Linked DNA regions of Homo sapiens: region 2 is linked to region 1. The links are contacts of gene promoters, found by promoter capture Hi-C in human tissues and cell types (Jung and others, 2019). All regions are on one chromosome and are shown on one strand. The core of a region is centred on a gene start or on the middle of the fragment in contact, and the rest is flanking DNA. Distances in the headings are between cores, read along the strand shown.

Region 1 (3,886 bases), core at 1,387-3,886:
TGTGATTTCCGTGCCTTCACCTTCTACTATTCCTCCATTTGCTCACTGTATTACGCCATGCTGTTCTCAAGTTCCTGGAGCCAGCCACATTCTTTCCTACCTCAGTGCCTTTGCACTTGCAGATCCTTCTGCCGATAATGTTCTTCCCATGGCTGGGCACTTCTTAGCACCTAGTGTACCCCCAAATGTCACAACCTTGATCTCTCATTGGTTTTCTATGACATTTAGTACAGTTTACATTGAGTTTGTCTGTTACTTCTTTTTGTCTAACTCTCCCTACTAGAATATAGGCTCCATGGGGGCTGTCACTGTGTGTATATTTCTGTGGGCTAGCCCCAGGATGTAGCCAAGCTGCGTGATTTTGGACAAGTCACTTAACCTCTCTGAGCCTGCTCAATAAATATTAGGGGGAGGAAGCAAGGAATGGCTGGGTGGGTGGGTGCAGAGAAGAATGAATGGGTGGATAGGTAGGTGGGTGGGTAGAAAGCAGGTAGATAAAGAAGGCAGGCAGGAGGGAGGGAGGAGAAATTGAATATCCTTGTTTTCATACACACCCCAGAGCAGTGTAGTGAGTTAAGAGTGCGGGCTCTGGAGCCCAAATGACTGAGTTCAAATCCCAACTCTGGCACTCATCAGCTGTGTGACCTTGGACAAGTCACTTAACCTCTCTGAGCCTCAGTTTCCTCATCTGTAAAACAGGGACGATGATGATGATGATGATAACTATCTTCTAGACTCATTCTTTTTCATTTTGGGGATTTTATTTTTGAAGACAGAGTCTTGCTCTGTTGCCCAGGCTTGAGTGCAGCACTACAGTCATAGCTCACTGCAGCCTTCAGCTCCTTGGCTCAAGTGGTCCTCCCACCTCAGCCTCCAGAGTAGCTGGGACTACAGGCGTGCACCACCATGACTGTCTAATTTTTAAATTTTTTTATAGAGACAGGGTCTTGCTATGTTGCCCAGACTGGTCTTGAACTCCTAGCCTCAATCGATCCTCCCACCTCAGCCTCCCAAAATGATGGAATTATAGGTGTGCACCGCTGCACACAGCCTTCTCGAGTATTTCTGAGGTTTAAATGAGAGGGTGCATCTTTAAAGTCCTTAAAACCCTGGCACACAATGAGCTTTCAGCAAATATTAGCTCTTTTTACTGTCTCTTCTCCTGATCTTTCAACCACTACAAATTTCAGTGCATGTTATCAGAGAATTCACCCCGAAGATCAAGAGAAAGAAAAACAAAAGCTGGTGTCTTCCCAAGGTTCGTTCTCCAGAGAACACGACACACTTCGGTAGCTGGGAAGAGCTCTACAGGGCCAGGATCCCTCAAATCAACCACAGGGGAATTTGTACCAAGTTCCTCAAAAACAGCTAGAAAAAAAAAGAAAGAAAGAATAGCAAGACGCTTTCTCTTTTTTCTCTGGAGTGGTCACGAAAGTCAACAGCAAGTTGATTCCCAAAAATGAGTCAGCAGGGAGAGCTACAAATTGCATCTTGTTATCAAAACAGCATAAAATAGCCTCCCCCAACTGTGGGACATTTCATCCTGGTATGGCCCCGTTTTCACAGCCTGGTATAAGCTTAGGAATCAAACACACCCAGGTTCAAATCCCAGCTCTAATTCTTCTTGGCTTGTGTGACGTTTCACTCCTCTGGGCCTCAGTCTCTCCATCTGTAAAATGGGACTAATCTTGTCTGCCTCACACTTTGTGGGATAAAGTGAGATCATGTAGGCACCAAAGTAATTCGAGGTGGTGGTGATGGCAGTGGTAGTGGTGGTGGTGGTAGCGGTGGTGGTGGTAGCAATTCTCTTGCTCTCCTTTGGAGACTGCACTAGGCATTAAGCTTGTTACATTTTGTCTCCTGGTTTCTTGAATGTCTTCCAGAAACATCTGACCCTCTCATGGGCCTCTGGCATGTTAGCAAGATGAAAACTCTCTTGAGAATTTCTTTTCTCTATTTTCTTCTTGAATTCTCATGTGTTAATGTCTGCCCTCTTCCTCATAGCTAGGTGCCCCCATTTGACAGATGGGCAAAGTGAGGCATTCAGAGAGGTGATGTGACGTGCCCAAGGGGTCCTGCTCCCTGGAGCTCTGCAGCAGGAGACTGGATCCAAAGGAAATGGAGGCAGAGAGGCATGGGGGTCAAGCCAGAGCAGAGGGTCCCAAGCTCAGACCCTATTAGGCAGGTAAGGCTCAGGAATAAGAAACAGGCTGGTTTGCAAAGTCTGAAAAAGGGGCTTCCGTGGGACCTTGGGCAAGGTTCTGGTCCTTCTCTCTGTGCTGAGGGGCTGGAGTCGGCCACTGAGGACTCTGGGTCCACGGGTGAAACTGTGCCACATCTTCACACCTCTGGCCTCAGTTTCCATATCTGTGCAATGTGGTGGCTCCAGGAGGCACTGCCTGCCTCATGGGTTATGACTGAGAGGCCTGTGGGGATGATGTCACAGGTCCCTAAGAGGGAAGTGTCACCCCGATGGCCCCAAATGTCTTACTTGCAGGTGACCTTTGGTGACAGTGGGTGCCTGCTGTGGGGCCAGGCCCCCTCCCACCTCTTTCTCACTCCCTCCCAGGAGGAGCCCAGCTGCGGGTGGGCGGGGCTGGCGGGGAGCGGCTCACCACATCCTCCTCTTCCTCCCCACTCTGCACATGCGGCTGGGTGGCAGCCAGCGGCCTCAGACAGACCCACTGGCGTCTCTCTGCTGAGTGACCGTAAGCTCGGCGTCTGGCCCTCTGCCTGCCTCTCCCTGAGTGTGGCTGACAGCCACGCAGCTGTGTCTGTCTGTCTGCGGCCCGTGCATCCCTGCTGCGGCCGCCTGGTACCTTCCTTGCCGTCTCTTTCCTCTGTCTGCTGCTCTGTGGGACACCTGCCTGGAGGCCCAGCTGCCCGTCATCAGAGTGACAGGTCTTATGACAGCCTGATTGGTGACTCGGGCTGGGTGTGGATTCTCACCCCAGGCCTCTGCCTGCTTTCTCAGACCCTCATCTGTCACCCCCACGCTGAACCCAGCTGCCACCCCCAGAAGCCCATCAGACTGCCCCCAGCACACGGAATGGATTTCTGAGAAAGAAGCCGAAACAGAAGGTAATTCCAGCCCTGGTTTTCTGCTGGGACCAGGGTGCCTTCTCTGCCCAGGAGGGACTGTTCCCTGCCTGCTGCATCTAGTGTCACAGTGGGAGGGCTCGGAGGACTGTGCCCAAGTCACAATTGGGGACACTGAGGCAAAGAAGATTCATGCAGTGAGGCTGGGCAGAAATGAGGTTGGGGTCTCTTGTTCAGCACAGCTTAGGGGCCCAGCAGCAGGGATGTGGCTGAGACGACCCTCTATCTTGAAAACCAGCCTCCAAAATGTAGCGGGCTGGGGAAGGAAAGCCAGTTTCAAGCCAAACATAACATGTCAATCACCCGATTCTGGGCGGCTGAGTCGGGAGGTGACGGGCATGGGTGTAGAGCCTGATGGGACCCATTCTGTGTCAGTTTCTATGTCTTACCACCTTGATTCCACCCAGTCATTCAAAACAATGGCTGGTGTGCCCATTTCGCAGATGAGGCAATGAGGCTGCGAGAGGTAGAGTGATTTTCCCTCGGTGACTCAACTGGGACGTAGCAGGTCGGGCAGTCAAGCCAGGTGACCCCATGAGCTGTCGCTGCATCTTTCTCATGAAGCACGGGGAACGGGTCGGATGGTAAGAGGCCAACCCAGTTCCCTGTGCATGTGGAGGAGAGGAGGGTGGGGAGGTCAGTGGAGGCTGAGCCTTGAAGGATGGGAAAGGAAGAACATTCCTGGTGGAGGAGCCCTGGGGAGCGGGAACTTAGGACTTGCCGCAGGAATGACGTCTCTGCTCAGTGAAGGCAGAAGACCAGGTGCGGGACATTCAAAGCCAGGAGG
Region 2 (3,886 bases), core at 3-2,502, 1.3 Mb before region 1:
CCGTTGTGGCTGAAGTCTTTGAAAGTAGATTTTACCCTCTCTCAACTCTCTCAATTACTTTCCTCTTCTCATACACCTGCCTTCTGGTATCTGCTCCCATAAGTCTAATAAAAAGCTTAATAGGGCCATTAATGATGTCTTAATTGCTAAATAGGGCTAAAGGACATTTTTAGCCCTCTTCTACTTGATCTCTCTGTAGCATTTGATGCTGCTGGCCATTTCCTTATACAAGGAAGCTCTCCCACTTCTGTTTCCATACCATTCCTCTCTCAGACACCTCTCCCAGCTCTGTTCTCATCCTGTCTCACCCTTACAGACTCCTTCTCTTCTTCATTTTTTTTTGAGACAGAGTTTGGCTCTTATTGCCCAGGCTGGAGTGCAGTGGCGTGATCTCGGCACACTGCGACCTCCGCCTCTCGGGTTCAAGCAATTCTCCTGCCTCAGCCTCCCAAGTAGCTGGGATTACAGGCATGCACCACCACGCCTGGCTAATTTTGTGTTTTTAGTAGAGACGGGGTTTCTCCATGTTGGTCAGGCTGGTCTCAAACTCCTGACCTCAGGTGATCCGCTGGCCTTGGCCTCCCAAAGTGCTGGGATTACAGACATGAGCCACTGCGCCTGGCTTTCTTTCTTTTTTTTTTTTAAATAGGGGAGGTGGCTGTCTTTGGACCAGTTCTCTTCATGCAGATGTTCTGAATGGTGTCATTCACTCCCATGGTTTAAACAATATAATAGCTAAATCCCAAACTTATGTCGTGAATGGCCATAGTTCCTAACACAGATGGTGTTATACAACAGCTATCTTCTCCCATTTCCCTTGTTAAAAGAACCCTGCTTTTGTTTTGGTAAGTGATGGTGATGTGTGGAGGGAAAGAGGACCTCTTCTCTATCCCCAAGGAATGGCCCGTGACTAATCTAAGCAATTCATGTGAGCTCCTAATAGCCAGTGGAGCCTGAGCAGTAGTCAGCTCAGAGATTCTCAGAAATAGAATCCTTAAAGATGATAGATAGATAGATGATAGATAGATAGATAGATAGATAGATAGATAGATAGATAGATAGATAGATGATAGATAGATGGATGACAGTGACCAAGGCTAAGAGGAAAGGGATCTATTTTTTCTACTTTTGAATGCTATTGTGAGGATGACAGATGTAAGAGCTGTGGCAGCCATCTTGTGACCATGAAGGCAAATATGGCTGACACTGACAATGTCAGGGAAGAACTGATGAAAAGACCCTGACTCTTTGTTGGCCTTCTTTATCTACTGAATCATGCAACCCTGCAACTACCTCCTTCCAAGCTTTTTTATCAAATGTGAGAAGAAACATCTTCATTGCTTAAGATACTTGCAATTGTGAATCCTTTTTGCATATATACATATCCAGGTTATAAGACCCTTAAGGTCCATAGGACAGAGGAGAGAATGCATGGATATTAGACCTCAGCATCTGGGAGAATCATTATGACCTTATGATGTGGACTGGCATCATGGGGTCAGGCAAGGATATATGAAACGTACATTTAAAAAAGCAGCACTGGTTTCAGACATATGTGGACCCTTTTTTGTTTCTCACATTGCAATGCATTGCTTTATCCCCTTGCAATTCTATTCCTCTATCATATTAAAAAGTAGCATTTTGTAACACATCTTTGGGTTCAGCATCTTTTCTGCACCACCACAGTTATGCAAGTTACAAATTCCCCCAGAGGCTTCTCAAATTTTGGGGGCATTAACATATTATATCCAACGTATAGATGCTCTTCTCCCAAATTTCAGGTTCAAGACATCTGAAATCCCAAGTTACCTAAATCCTATTAAATACTTGACTCTAAACAACCCCCATTAAGGTAAACAACCTCCAGAGGCTCTATCTTGAGTTAAGGACAAATACCAAGAAGAGTAACAACTAATATCTCTGGAGAAATCCTGTATTCATGGTACTTAGATTATCAGCAGCATTTATATAGTTGATCACTCATCCCTCTCTCCAACAGCTGCCTTACTTCACTTTCCAAGAACATCTATTATTTGTATGACTAATCCACACCATTGGTCACTCTTCATCCTTGCATGCTGTTTACACCTCATTTTCCAGGTCCTTCAGTCCTTGTCATGCTGGTTACACCCCATTTTCCAGGTCCTTTAGTCCTTCTTTATGTATTTGTATTACTAGGTAACCTTAAACATTCTCATGATTTTAGACACCCTCTATGCTGGTGACTACAAATTGCACATTTTTAGCCCAGAGCTTTCTCTTGAACTCCAGATTTTTCTATTGAAGTACCATTTGGGAATATCATAGGCATCTCAGTCTTAATACATCCAAATCAAATTTCAGATGTCCTAAATCATCCTAACTTGTTTCTCCCAATGTTTCTCCATCTGAGTAAATGGCTGCTTTGTCTTTCCAAGCCAAAATCTATATTCACTCTTGCTCCTTTCTTTCACTTATACTTTGCATATAATTTAAAAGAAAGTATGTCCAGAATCCAGCTACCTCTCATCAATCCCATTTAGGACTGTTAGGTTTTGCAAATAGTTGCAGAAGACATATTTATGCTAAGCATTTATTAATCTTACGGGTTCTTTTGAGATCTCCCCATAGTGGTCCACCTTTCACCAGTTTATTCCCTTTTCTATTTGTAATTTATTGTACATCTGGGGCCATGTTAACTGACAAGGGAAACTGATTATATCATCCCCTTACTAATACACTACTTGTGTAATACCTATATTAGTCACTTACTTCTTTACTTGGAAGTGACAGGCAGCACAATTCAAATATGATTCAGGACTAAATGGAATTTACTGGCTCATGGAACAGATTTACAAAAGGTGGCTGGCTTCAGGTATAATTTATATCTAATAATTTAATAATATCAGTAAGTGTTCTCTTTTTCAACCCCATCCTTTTTACCGCCTCTGTCTTTCAGCATTTTATCTCTGATGATCTCTTTTTGACTTCATTCTTAGATTTTTTTCACATGAGGTCATTACAGCTACTTGCAGACAAGCCTACATTACTCTTAACAATTCCACAGAAGAAAGCATTTTTGTAAGGGCTCCATCAAAAAAATGGGTCACATGGTCACTCAGAAACTAATCGCTGTGGCCATGGATCTGGAACACTCTGAGTCTGGCTTAAGTCACCCTCAGGGACTGGGAAGAGCCAGCCCCTACCCTTATGACTTGGGAAACATAATTATTGAATGGGGGAGCATGATTCCAAAAGGAGATCCCAGAAAAACGAATACAATGTTTTTCATGATTCCTTGTTGCCTGTATGATAGATTCCAAATGCCCCAGCTTAGTGCTTAAGGACTTGTACAGTCTGTCCCCAAACCATCCCCCTCCAGCCTCTTCTCTGGCAACTACTTCCTACTCAATGCTCCCGCTACACTGATTTTTCATCGTTCCCTACACAGTTTCTGCTGTAATTTGTACTTGTAATATCTTCCCTACACCAATCCTTTCTTTCTATGCACAGTATTACTCATGCTTAATGCTTTAAGACCTGGCTGAAATACAACTTTTGTGATTCCCTTAATGCTTTAAGACCTGGCTGAAATCTACCTTTCCTGATTCCCTGGCTGAATTGGTTGTCCCATCCTCTGCATTTTAAATGTTCTACAGTGCCACTTAAGATCATGCAATGCCACTTCTCTGAACCATTGTTTTCCACTAGACTGTGAGCTCCTTGGAGGTAGGAATGTCTCATTCATCTCTGTCTCCCTGATGCCTGGTGCTGGGATTGATACAGGAATTATTGAACAAAGGGATGAATGAAAGGTTTACCAATCAAGTAAATACATTATTTAATGAAGAGAGCACCAGGCAGAGTCTTCAATCTTCATTTAAGCCCCGCTTCCCACCTCTTTATC

Evidence for each region. Contacts are between HindIII fragments. The study calls those that stand out against the background at their distance.
Region 2: a contact is called between a fragment that was not itself captured here and the fragment with the promoter of IL21R in region 1, in 1 of the 25 tissues and cell types used here (dorsolateral prefrontal cortex).

What each region holds. Positions count from the first base shown.
Region 1 is chr16:27,399,538-27,403,423 of GRCh38, forward strand. It overlaps IL21R (interleukin 21 receptor), which reads left to right and starts at 2,637. Exons shown (of 9, transcript NM_181078.3): 1 at 2,637-3,081. RefSeq lists enhancers at 2,714-3,256, 3,149-3,268. The HindIII fragment of the contact is 8,819 bases long and covers 1-3,886 here.
Region 2 is chr16:26,146,492-26,150,377 of GRCh38, forward strand. No RefSeq gene overlaps it. Among named protein-coding and RNA genes, the nearest start is that of MIR548W, 120 kb to the left of the region's middle. The HindIII fragment of the contact is 4,001 bases long and covers 1-3,253 here.